Regions from separate parts of the Homo sapiens genome. Here region 1 is linked to region 2. The links are contacts of gene promoters, found by promoter capture Hi-C in blood cells and fetal thymus (Javierre and others, 2016). All regions are on one chromosome and are shown on one strand. Each heading gives the region's core, a stretch centred on a gene start or on the middle of the fragment in contact. The rest is flanking DNA. Distances are from core to core; before and after follow the strand shown. Region 1 holds the start of GABRR1 (gamma-aminobutyric acid type A receptor subunit rho1). Region 2 holds the start of SRSF12 (serine and arginine rich splicing factor 12).

Region 1 (6,328 bases), core at 349-2,848, 100 kb after region 2:
GACATTGCCAGTGCTGCCGTCAGAATGGCCCAGGTGAGGCCGAGTGCTAAGGGGCTGGTGGGGAACCTGGTTTCCTGTGTAAGCTCCCTCTGCAAGTGCTGGCAGACAGGGCACCATGCACCTTTGGTGTTGACCACAGGCAAGCACTTGCCTGCAGGAGGCTCCGTCCCTGGCCCTCCCAATTTATAGGTAGGGAACCATCTAATAATGATCCTTCTAGTCACACAGCTTGGAGAAAGCTGCTTTCTTTTAAAATATTAAAAAATGATTCACAAATCTAACAGAAATAATTAGAGCAGAATCATTCTCATGAAATACAGGTCCCATTGGTAATTTGAGAATTCACAGAGTTGTTCTAACCCTAGGACACAGACAGCAAACAATTGCCCTTGATATTTTTTTTAAATGTGCATATATTCTATTTTCCAGAATCTACCTTTCACCCAGGACAATTCATAAGGAATTTTAAAAATGCACTGATAAAATGATCTAATCTAGCATCATTTTAAAAGAAAACGTAATTCTAACTTTCTAAAAGGGGAGCAGCAGGAGAACAAAGGGAAGGGGAAGAAAAAGGCATCCACACAAAACACCATACGCTGGAAATGATGCTCAGTTTCTAGAAGAACACTGTAAGCTCACTTTGTGCATCCTCTTTTCCTAAATCCTCTATCCCTAAATGTCCACTCACCTGCCTTTCTTAGACATCTCGTGGACTTCTCTTCCGGGCCAGTGCATTCTGCTTTCAGTGGCCAAAACCCATCCCCACCACAAAAGAAAGATGCCAAATCTCATATTTGGGACAGCCAACATGGGTTTCCAAATTCAAACAGCTCTCTCCAGAAACAGCAAAAAGGAAAAGATTGTTCTTTTTCTCTCTTAAGACATTATTGGTCTGTTCATTATTAGAAGGATGTTTACTCATGCAAAAAAAAAATCAACCCACAGGATGCAATCTGGAGAGCAGGAGAAAGCAATTTCCACTAAACCTATAAATCCTCCTACGTCAGATGTCAGGGATTTTCTGAACTGAGGTTGAATTCCTGTGTCCCAGTGGAACAATTATTTTAGCCGGTCTAAATTAGTTCATCGTCAAATGCAGTAAAAATGTTGGTAAAAGTCTTATTTTCTGGTGCGTCGAATAAAAGGAAGTAAAAATGGACCAAAGCAATTTCCAAGAGGAGTAAGGCCAGAGGTGCGGAACTGCTTTCTATGTTCACGTTAATGAGCTCCTCCCTGGATCTATTTTAAGCTTACGGCCATTATTATTTGCTTTAGCTGAGGGCTGGATTTGGACAGCTTCCTGCCCCCACTTCCTGTGGCTGAATCCCTGAAACCCCAGGGCTCGGTACCTGCGTGGGCTGTCTATATGGCTGAGATTGGGAGGGCAACTGGGGAAGAGGTTTTTTTGTCTTTGTTTGGCGCAGAAACAAGTAAATTTCCTTGTCAGTTGCATTGTTCTTATCATGAACCTTGCTGCACTGTCCACATTTGAAAAATACCAGTAATAAATTAACTGTAGCCTCAAGTCTGTGTTATTTGTAGACAGTTTTTCTTTTGCTTTGATGCTTACTTTAAGACTCTGCTATAATCTACAGGCCGGATCTTGTGTCTTCATCAAAAGACAGTCTCAGAGCCTCGTGGAAGAGACCGCATTAGGTACTCCAAACTATTGACTCTTCAAAGCTGAGCTGACATGGTTTTGGTAACTTTCAGACTGTACCGGTAAACTGAGTCAGGATTCCCATAACTCTATAGCTGAAAAGCGGTTTCACACAACTGCTAACCCAAGATCCAATAGAATGAGAATTAATTACACAAGACTGAAAAAAAATTGATGAGAGAAATTTTTTTCGGGTTATTTGAAATGCAGTTGTTTTAAGGTTCTGTTCCCAGATCGTAAGAAGCCTTTTCTTTCTCTTCTTGTGCTATCTGTAATTCACAATAAGCTTTTAAATTCTGCTTTTATAAACCAGAATGAAGTATTCTTAAATTATATATGATTCTCACTAACACGATTCTTCTTATTTGAATTCAGAAACTCTTACCCAGTCTCTCTACATTTCTTGGCAATATAGTTGTTTGCATAGGTTTAGTAAGAATCTGTCCTCCCTTTTGCCAAAATACAACTGGAAGCATCAATTATGCAATGAAAGCCTTGCCTTGAATGCCCTATTTGAGAATAATGTTCATTTAACGAGGTGTGACAAGCCATTTTAAGGAATAAAGGTTGGCTGTACTTACGGAACCAATGCCTATAATGTCCTCTCAGGAAACCTGACGTAGGTCCAGTTTATAGTGTCCAGTCTTACAGTTAGTAAGGAAAGTCACTTCTAGGCAAGTACTTGGAGGTATTTTTCTGAAACCTCTAGAAGAAAGGAATTCACTCAAATCTATAGGTACTGCAGGTAAAATTTGGTGGAGTTTCTTGGGCTTGGTCTCCTAATCTTAGCAGGATAGAAAATAATAGACATGGCGGGGCACGGTGGCTCACGCCTGTAATCCCAGCACTTTGGGAGGCCAAGGTGGGAGGATCACCTGAGGTCAGGAGTTAGAGACCAGCCTGGCCAACATGGTGAAACCCTGTCCCTACTAAAAATACAAAAATTACCTCGGTGTGGTGGCGGGCACCTGTAATCTCAGCTACTTGGGAGGCTGAGACAGGAGAATCGCTTGAACCTGGGAGGTGGAAGTTGTAGTGAGCCGAGATCGCACCACTGCACTCCAACCTGGGCAATAAGGAATGAAACTCCGTCCCAAAAAAAGAAAAGAAAATAACAGACACTTTTAGAAGTCCAAGCTAAGATTCCTTATGATAACTTCTAGGCAGGAGCTAATTTGGAATCATTCAACACCGTATGGCTCTAGGTTTTGCAACGCAAACTTCAAAGGAGGCATCTATGATGCACTGTAGAAGTAACCAGCCAAACCTAAGGAGCCCAGCTTTTTTCTGTGATCAAGAATAATCTTTAGAATTATATATAATAACAAGGAGAAGGAAGATGGTCAGGAAAAATCGTCAAACTTTGAAATGAGCAAAATAGATTACTGGGTGTTCTTTCAATAGAATTCTAAGCCTTGTCCAGCGGGTCCTCCAGGGATTGTCTGATCCTATAGGGATGTATGACTTTGATTGTCTTTAGGCTATTTTACAATTCTGTAATAGTAGATGTTAACACGTAGCAAACTGATAGTAACGCATAGCTTTCCTGTCCATAGCTATGCAAATTATTCCTTTTGTGCTGTGGAGAGTATAAATCTCTATAAATCAAGCCCTTATTTGAACCAGTTGTAACATCTTACTGGTCCCTTAACTAAATAATGAGTTAAATAAAATCTTCAATGTCTGTTCATTTTATAGTTATGTGAGAGTCATGATTATATCCTCTTATATAAATCATCCTTTAACGTGCTTTCAATTAATAGATGTCAAAAACATTCAACATATAGAAATAAAGGCAGAATATGTGATGTCTCCCGAGGTCAATGTAAGCTAAGCATGGTTGGATACTTAAGTTGTAGTGACTTGCTGATTTAAAGACCAAATTGTCTAAAGGGAGATATTCTGGAGCTGAGTACATCAAAATGAACAGGACAATAAGGCATTAAATTGGGGAGGTAGAAAGGACATTAAATGGCTCCTAATGCCCAGATTGGAAAATACCTTTCTTTCTTGTTTAGAGGATCCTGGACTAGCTCCAGGGGCCAGGAGCCTGGGCATAACCAAAGAGAGCAAACCGGAAGGCCTCAAACACGCATTTCCTACCCTCTCTTAGCTAAGGAGAGCTGGTTCAGCAGGTCCCCAGTTAGTTTGATGGCAGGACAGGCGGTACCAGCTGCTGAGCCTTTGCAACAAGGCCACTTCCTCCATCCAGAAGTTCCTATGGCAGAACCTTGAGGGGAGGGGCCCTGTCTTAGAGCCCTTTCTGCTTTGGGCTTGAGCCAACCATGCATCCCTCTTACTGCTGTCATGAGAACTTAGAAAGTCATGGCATTTCACTACTTTGTTGCTTGTAAATGTTCTTAATCAACTTTATTTCCCACTAACACCACGTGGCTCTAATGCGGAGAGTATCTGTGCCCTCTTTATAGGACAAGGATGTAGAAGGGAGTTGTAAAGAGGCCTGAGAGAACCAGTTAGGGCCAGCATCAGAGCATATTAAGGATCCAGACTGACTTACTGAACTATAACACTTCCAGACCAAGTTTTAAAAATGCTTTTTTTTTTGAGACGGAGTTTCGTTCTTGTTGCCCAGGCTGGAGTGCAATGGCATGATCTCAGCTCACCACAACCTCTGCCTCCCAGGTTCAAGTGATTCTCCTGCCTCAGCCTCCCGAGTAGCTGGGATTACACGCATTCGCCACTACACCCAGCTAATTTTGTATTTTTAGTAGAGACGGGGTTTCTCCATGTTGGTCAAGCTGGTCTCCAACTCCCAATTTCAGGTGATCCGCCTACCTCAGCCTCCCAAAGTGCTGGGGTTACAGGCATGAGCCACCGCGCCTGGCCAAAAACACTATTTTTTGACAAAACTCTTCTTTTCCTTTATTGAGTATGCCAGCCTTCTCTCTCTTCTCACTCTCCTTTTTATTCCTCAGCCATCATGGCCTTCCCTACAGCAATGCAGGGTCTCCAGGGCAATAATTTCTTCAGCAGAAGAGGGACCAGGCAATGCTTAACTCCAGCTTATCTTCTCATGGCCATCAAAAGTCTCCCTGCCCCAAGCCCTCAGAGCCAACCCAACACCACACACAAGGCACTCACTGACTGATGGGTGAACGGCAGGCAGCACACCCCAGCTGCTCCCAAACAGGGGCTGCAGGTGCTCATCAGCTGTTTCCACGTGCTCCCTGCAGCACATTTTCTAGCCACAGTCAGCCCTCTGCATCCGTGGGTTTTACATCTGTAGATTCAACCAAGTGCAGATCAAAAATATCTGGGGATAGAAAAACAAAGAACACAAATTCAAAAAACTAATGTAGTATAACAACTACTTGCTAGTATTTACATTGTATTAGATATTAGAAGTAATCTGAGATGATTTAAAGTATACAGGAGAATGTGTGTAGGTTATATGCAAATACTACCCCATTTTATGAAGGGACTTAAGCATCCATGGATTTTGGAATCCTTGGGGTCCTGGAACCAATCCCCTTGGTACCGAGGGATGACTGTACACGTGCACCAATTTGGCTCTGAGCTCAATGCCTAAACATAATCTCCCAGCATTGGACTGGCCCTTTCCAGGTAGGGGATAAGGGACAAATAAAAAGGCAAAGGAAAGGAATTTGATGAAACAATGACCCGAAGAGCCATTTTTCAGTTCCTGATGCAGCTGCTTCTTTACTCACTGTATCGTCAAGCCTACTATTTAAGCTGCTGCTGTAATCGAGCCATGGAAAGATCAATAAAAAGAATAGCATTTCTTTGTCATGGAACAGCTTAGAGGTGAGTGGTCCAGACTGAAGGGAATCTGCTCCAGGACGAAGTGCCTTTCGTCTTGTTGCCCTTTCTCAGGGTATGGTCTTTGTGTACCTGGTTAAAGTTGGGCTGCCAGTAGGCAGAGAAGACATGAAAAGCAAGCAATTTCTGTTTAGGCAAGTGACATAGGAGCTGCACTCATCACTTCAATTCACATTTCACTGGCAAGAAACTTGGCCTGATAGTCACTCCTAACTGTAAGGAGTCCAAGAAATGTGGTCTCTCAATGAGTCATCTTATACCTGGATAAAATTATATCATGATGAAAACAAAAAATAAATTTGGGGGAACAGTCAGCAATGTGCTGAACTCTCCAATTTTTCTTCCCATCCCAAGAGTCAAGTAGCAGTGGCTTGGATCCTAAATTCGATTCCTGTAAACCCACTTTGTGGGGCTCCTTTTCCCCTTGGCCCACTGCATATCTGGAGCCAAACACTCAGATTAGTCAGAACATCCAAATAAAACAAAGAAGGGACAAAACATCAGTCAGACCGTTAATATAAGTCCTGTCGGGAAGGCTGTGGTATTTATAGTGTGCTTCCAAAGGAACCACCCCCGTTCTGCATCTGCTCGTTTAATTCAGGTCAGATTCCTTGATCTTGAGGTTTTTTAATGCCCATCTGTAATGTGCTCTTTTTGTCATTTCCCTGTCTCTCCTTCCCTGCTAAATTACCAATGCCATAAACCAGCTGGTGTTGGTGTCACTCTGAAAGCACTTTACTTATTAATTTACGATCATGACAATAGGCTTTTTGGAGACTGCCCACCATCTAAAATGAAATTTTCATGATTGATGAGAGATCTAGATGGACAGGAAGCCTCAATTAGCTTGAGTTAAATTTTTTT
Region 2 (6,485 bases), core at 3,369-5,868:
TGAGCCACCGCACCCAGCCCAATTTTTTCTATTATTAGTAGAGATGGAGCTTCACTATGTTAGCCAGGCTCATCTCGAACTCCTGACCTCAAGTGATCCACGTGCCTCGGCCTCCCAAAGTGCTGGGATTATAGATGTGAGCCACCGTGCCAGGCCCCAAAGATTTTGTTTATAAGCATACTAAATGTTAAAGCCTATTTATTTATTTATTTTTGAGACAGAGTCTCACTCTCACCCCCGGAGTGCAGTGGTGCCATCTTGACTCACTGCAGCCTCGACCACCTGGGCTCAGGCGATCCTCCCACGTCAGCCTCTCAAATAGCTGAACTACAGGTGCGCACTACCACACCTGGCTAATTTTTGTATTTTTTGGTGAGACAGGGTTTTGCTATGTTTCCCTGGCTGGTTTCAAACTCCTGAGCTTAAGTGATCTACCCACCTCAGCCTCCAAATGTGCTGGGATTACAGGCATGAGCCACTGTGCCCTATCTTTAAAGCTAATTTTAAAAGTGTCTACATGTCACATTGCTAGTTAACTTATACTGTATACTACTTTGTACTAAAAGGTTAATACAGATTACATGTGATGATTCTAATTTCATATCATCACTCACCTGCTATTCGATCTTAGGCAAAATACTTAACCTAAACGTTGATTTCTCATCGGTAAAATGGGGTTAACAAAGAACATACGGCCAGGCGCAGTGGCTCATGCCTGTAATCCCAGTGCTTTGGGAGGCCAAGGTGGGCGGATTACCTGACATCAAGAGTTCGAGACCAGCCTGGCCAACATGATGAAACCCCGTCTCTACTAAAAATACAAAAATTAGCCAGGCATGGTGGCACACATCTGTAATCCCAGCTACTCGGGAGGCTGAGGCAGGAGAACTGCTTGAGCCCAGGAGGCGGAGGTTGCAGTGAGCCGAGATCGTGCCACTGCACTCCAGCCTGGCTGACACAGCAAGACTCTGTCTCAAAATAAAACAAACAAACAAAAAAACCACCATACATTATAGGGTTACTGCGAAAATTTAATATATGTAATGTTTTTAGTATGGCACCTAGTACACAGTGAGTATTCAACAAATGTTAGAGATTTCATTCATGTAATATAATCTTGTAGATTTTGATTGTCTGCCAGTGGCAAAGCTAAAAAAAAAAAAAAGTGAAAAAATGGAAAAGGAAATCAGTCAATCTCAACTATCAGTCTCAATCACTCACTGGTGAATGAAGTACATAGATCAGAGATCAGGTGTCACCTGCAGATGTGTTTTATTTGGCCTGCATGACGTTTAAACATTTTTAAAATGCGTATAAATATGAAATTGCCAATATTTTACTGCTTTTATTTTTTTAGTTTTTGAGACAGAGTCTCGCCCTGTCGCCCAGGCTGGAGTGCAATGGTACTATCTCGGCTCACTGCAACCTCCACCTCCCGGGTTCAAGCGATTCTCCTGTCTCCGCCTCCCGAGTAGCTGGGATCACAGGCACGCACCACCATGCCTGGTGAATTTTTTGTATCTTTAGTAGAGACGGTGTTTTACCATGTTGGCCAGGCTGGTCTCAAACTCCTAATTTCGTGATCTGCCCACCTCGGCCTCCCAAAGTGCTGGGATTATAGGCGTGAGCCACCACGCCCGGCCACAGCTTTTATTTTTTTAGACTCTCTAAAGGTCTCTCTGTCACCCAGGCTGGAGTACAGTGATGTGATCATCGTTCACTGTAACCTTGACCTCCCGGGCTCAAGTGACCTCCCGGGCTCCCACCTCAGCTTTCCCAGTAATTGGGACTACAGGTGTCATACACCAGGCTACATTTTATAGCTTTCTTTTATTTATTTATTTTTTGAGACAGAGTCTCACTCTGTCGCCCAGGCTGGAGTGCAGTGGCCTGATCTCGGCTCACTGCCAACCTCCACCTCTGGGGTTCAAGCGATTCTCGTGCCTCAGTCTCCTGAGTAGCTGGGATTACAGGCGCCAGCCACCACACCTGGCTAATTTTTGTGTTTTAGTACAGACGGGGTTTCACCAGGTAGGCCAGGTTGGTCTCGAACCCCTCACCTCAAGTGATCCGCCGAACTCGGTCTCCTAAAGTGCTGGGATTACAGGCGTGAGCCACCGCGCCCAGCCTTATATTTTACAGCTTTCAAATCTACAAATGGGGTTTTCTTTTTTCTTTCTTTTTTTTTTTTTTTTTTTTTTGAGACGGAGTCCTCGCTCTGTCTCCCAGGCTGGAGTGCAGTGGCGCGATGTTGGCTCACTGCAAGCTCCGCCTCCCGGGTTCACACCATTATCCTGCCTCAGCCTCCTGAGCAGCTGGGACTACAGGCACCCGCCACCACGCCCGTCTAATTTTTTTATTTTTAGTAGAGACGGGGTTTCATCGTGCTAGCCAGGATGGTTTCCATCTCCTGACCTCGTGATCCGCCTGCCTCAGCCTCCCAAAGTGCTGTGATTACAGGCATGAGCCACCGCACCCGGCCACGAATGGGATTTTCATATGATTCAACTTAATGCATCTAAAGACTAAGATTACACATACAAAATCCAGATTTCTGATTTCTCTTTACAACTAGTAAGATATATCAACAATAAGTCCAGATGTCTACATGGCAGCTGTCAGCTGGAGCCTAGAGGCAGATGCTGCACCTTTTAGATGGCATATTTCCTTTTCTATTTGCTATTCTATTTCTATTTGATAGTCCACACCATCCTACTGTGCCTTATAGGCTGGCAGCTTCACTCGTTTATATTACCCCGGCTGGCCCCTGTGAACCATTAGAATTGGAAACCTCTGATTTTTCTACAGACACCCTGAAGAGGCTTGATGCTTATTCCATTTTCAAGTTGTCTGTTCAACTGCAAGGTTTTTTAATTCTGCCCAAATCATAAATTATGTTCGTGTTTTCTATGTAATATATTGATAAAAAGGCTGACAGAAGAAATGTAAACAAGGCACCTTTTAGATGTTAACTAAGATATATTAACCACAACATATAGTTGTGATACATGTACTTGCGGTGATCAAATAAAAAATACTTGGCCGGGCACGGTGGCTCATGCCTGTAATCTCAGCGCTTTGGGAGGCCGAGCTGGGCGGATCACTTGAGGTCAGGAGTTGGAGATCAGCCTGGCCAACATAATGAAACCTCATCTCTACTAAAAATATAAAAATTAGCCGGGTGTGGTGGCACACGCCTGTAATCCCATCTACTTTGGATGCTGAGGCAGGAGAATCGCTTGAACCCGGGAGGCAGAGGTTGCAGCCAACCAAGATCGGGCCATTGTACTCCAGCCTGGGGGACAAGAGCGAGACTTTGTCTAAAAAAAAAAAAAAAACTAAAAAATAAAAAATACTTAACGTTTATTTACTCCTCAAAGGTAAATTATAATACTCATCTCAGATGACTATGGAGTCAAGAGCTCCATGTATCTATACCTCTCTGGCCCCAGGTAAATCATTAAAACTCTTAGTTTCCGCTCTCCCTTATGTACAATAAAACAGTACTGCATAGGTAGAAAGGCTGGGGGGAAGTAAATGAAGCCCAGTGAAATGAGAATGTCTATTAACACCGTTCCCTCTCCCCCCGCCCCCAATTTCTTCAGCTCCATTAAGGAAGGAAGTGCTATATGAAAAAGTCATTCCTTAGTATCTGTGTTCAGACACTCTGTAGACAAAATTCTCAACGGAGGGGTGGGGCATCAGAATCAACCAGGTGAGCCTATACTCACGCCCTTAAAAAGGGTGTTAATACTGGACTCAGAACTTTAAAGAAAAACGCACTGATCTCATTCATTGAAGTTATTTTTTGTATGCAGAATAAAATTGTGTGAATAAAATGCAAGCAGCACCGTCTGTAAGTAGACCAGAACTGGGGGAAAGAAACTGTAAGGCCCGAGTACGCATTATGGTACAAAACGTTCTCACCAGCCCCAATTCCTCTCCATCTAGGAGGGTTGGATGCGCGCGATTTTATCGGGGCACGGCGACAAAGGAGCTGAAACGCGGGCACTCGCTGGAGCGCAAACCCTCCCGACTCCCGGCGGGGAGCGACCTGAGCTCGGGAGAGGGGCGCCCCGTGTCCCACGGCCCGCCGGCTGCGGTGCTGAACCGCGGAAAGCGACGCGGGCCCGGGACACGATGTGCGCGGCGCCGGGGCTGAAAGCTGGCCGGGAGGGCGGAGGCGCGAGTTCCGCCCTGGGCCGCGGAGTAGTCCGAGGGCTCACACCTCCCCAAGTGGCGCAGCCTGGGCCCGCGGGGAGGCTCCGCGCAGCTCCCCCGAGCCTCCGCCGGGCCTCGGCCGTGCTCCGCGGCGCGGCTGTTACCCCGCCCCTCCTCCGCGCCCCCAACCTGCAGCCGCGGCCGTTCACCTGGTGGCGTCCGCGACGTTCCTGATGAACAGGGAGGTGTTGGGGGGCCTCGTGTAGCGAGACATGACCGCTTCCTCCGTTCCCTCCGGGTCTGCCCGCGGCCGCTGGACTCGCTCCGTCTCCCGCTACCGCTGCTACCACCACAGGAGCTCCGCCGGCCCCCGGCGCGACCCCCACCCCTCGGCCTCAGCCCCGCCAGCGCGCAGCCGCAGAGGCCGGCGCAGAGGGGGCGCAGCGCGGCGCCAGCCTGGACGCACGGGCCGGGGGCGGGGGCGGCGCCGGCGCGGCCCAGGGGCCGCGGGAATTCCGAAGACAGGAGCGCGGCCGTTCCCAGGCCCTATGGGATCCGGGTATGGGGGGTCCTGGAGTGCGACGGGATTTGGGGAGGGGGCGGCGAGGGCCAGTGTATGTCAGGAGGGCGGAGGCCAAGAGGGGGCTTGAGGCCGCGGCGGGGACGCCGGGGGTTAGAGGACCCAGAGGTGGTGGCGGGGCTGCGGCTGGGCGGAGGTGGGGTCAGTGAGAGCCGCTTTCAACCGCGCCCCCGCTCAGCCTCCGCGGCCCTCAGCGCATCGTCCTGAGCGCAGGACCTTGGCAGTTGGTAGGCCTCCTGCCCCTCTGGTCTTGAGCCTTCGGCTTTCCAACTGTGAGGTCTCGGTTTTGTTCGGATTTGTTTTTTTAATAGAGACGGGGTCTCGCTGTGTTGCCCAGGTGGTCTCAAACTCCTGGGCTCAAGCCTCTCCCGCCTCGGCCTTCCAAAGTGCTGGGATTACAGGTGTGAGCCACCGCGCCTGGCCTGTTGGATTTTTAAGTATTATATGATTCTTCATCCTTTATTCACTTGGGGCATAACACTCAGCTGTGAGTACATTCATTCAGATGTTTATTGAGCGTCTACTATGCGCCAGGCACTTAGCGTGGGATATAGCAATGAACAAACAGGCCAAGCCCCGCCCTCTGAGCTTACATTCTAGAGGGGGGACAAACGAATGTACAAATGAATACATGATGTAGAAGACAACAGTTTAAATGCAGGGACAGTTAAGCAAAATTTAAATTACCCTCTCCCTATTCCCCCAAAATGTTGTAGCCCATCCCCTTCTAGTTAGACTCGTCTTCGCCTTGCTCCTGTGGCCGGCAGGCACAGCCTGTTATTCAGGGCTGGGAGTGTAACCAGGCAACTCCTAAGTGTGAAGAGTGCCCCTTTTCGCTCGCAGAAGTGGTAGGCTTTGAAGAATACATGTCGTGGTCACCCTTCTAGCTCACAGCCCTCCCAGAGGCTGTGGAGGTTCCTGGGTCTGCAGCTGTACTGGAACGGTGGCTATTCTTTCATTCAGAAGGGATTGCTCTGGCACTGCAGGCACAGGGCTAGACTGGCACCGTGCCTATTCCCCTAGAGCTTAGAATTTGGTAGGGAGGCAGAATCTAACAATCACACTGGTAAAGATACAAACTATAATACAGGGCTATGAAAAGAACTATATGCTGCTGAGAGCAGGCATTGTGGGATGGTGAGCAAGGCTAGAGGGTCACTTATGTTCCCTGAACAAGTCTTGAAGAGATGGGTAAAGAATGGAGAAGAGTAATTAGTGCAGTGGAACAGCACGTGCAAAGGCTTTGAGGCAATATAGTAAATGAGGCAAAACAGGAGCATGAGGCTGGAGAAGAGTTGGAAAATGAGGCTGGAGAGCAGGCTGGATTCATAATACAAAAGCTTAGAATGCTTACCATGTGTTAGTTGGCTAGGGCTGCCATGACAAAGCACCACAGATTTGGTGGCCCGAAACAACAGAAATTTATTCTCTTGTAGTTCAGAGGCCAGAAGTCTGAAATCCAGGTGTCCGCAGGGCCATCATCTATCTGAAGGCACTCTAGGGGAATCCTCTGTTTCTTCCAGTCTTTGGTGGCCCCACACATGTTTTGGCTGTGGATACATAGATCCAGTCTCCACTTCTGTCTTCACATGGCCTCCTGTCTTTCTCTCTCTCTTTCTCTGTCTCTCTCTCTTTTTATTTTAGATGGAGTCTATGTTGCCTAGGCTGATTTCAAACTCTTAGGCTCAAGTGATCCTCCTGCCTTGGCCTCCCAAAGTTGAGATTACAGGTGTGAGCCACTGTA

Evidence for each region. Contacts are between HindIII fragments. The CHiCAGO score rates a contact against its expected background, and 5 or more counts as called.
Region 1: a contact is called between a fragment that was not itself captured here and the fragment with the promoter of SRSF12 in region 2, in 1 of 17 cell types (M1 macrophages). The highest score is 5.5, in M1 macrophages.

What each region holds. Positions count from the first base shown.
Region 1 is chr6:89,216,510-89,222,837 of GRCh38, forward strand. GABRR1 (gamma-aminobutyric acid type A receptor subunit rho1) reads right to left here and starts at 849. Exons shown (of 10, transcript NM_002042.5): 1 at 692-849. The coding sequence starts at 813. The HindIII fragment of the contact is 697 bases long and covers 1,251-1,947 here.
Region 2 is chr6:89,113,453-89,119,937 of GRCh38, forward strand. SRSF12 (serine and arginine rich splicing factor 12) reads right to left here and starts at 4,619. Exons shown (of 5, transcript NM_080743.5): 1 at 4,371-4,619. The coding sequence starts at 4,435. It also overlaps a transcript of PM20D2 not described here. RefSeq lists a silencer at 4,203-4,472. The HindIII fragment of the contact is 10,924 bases long and covers 1-6,079 here.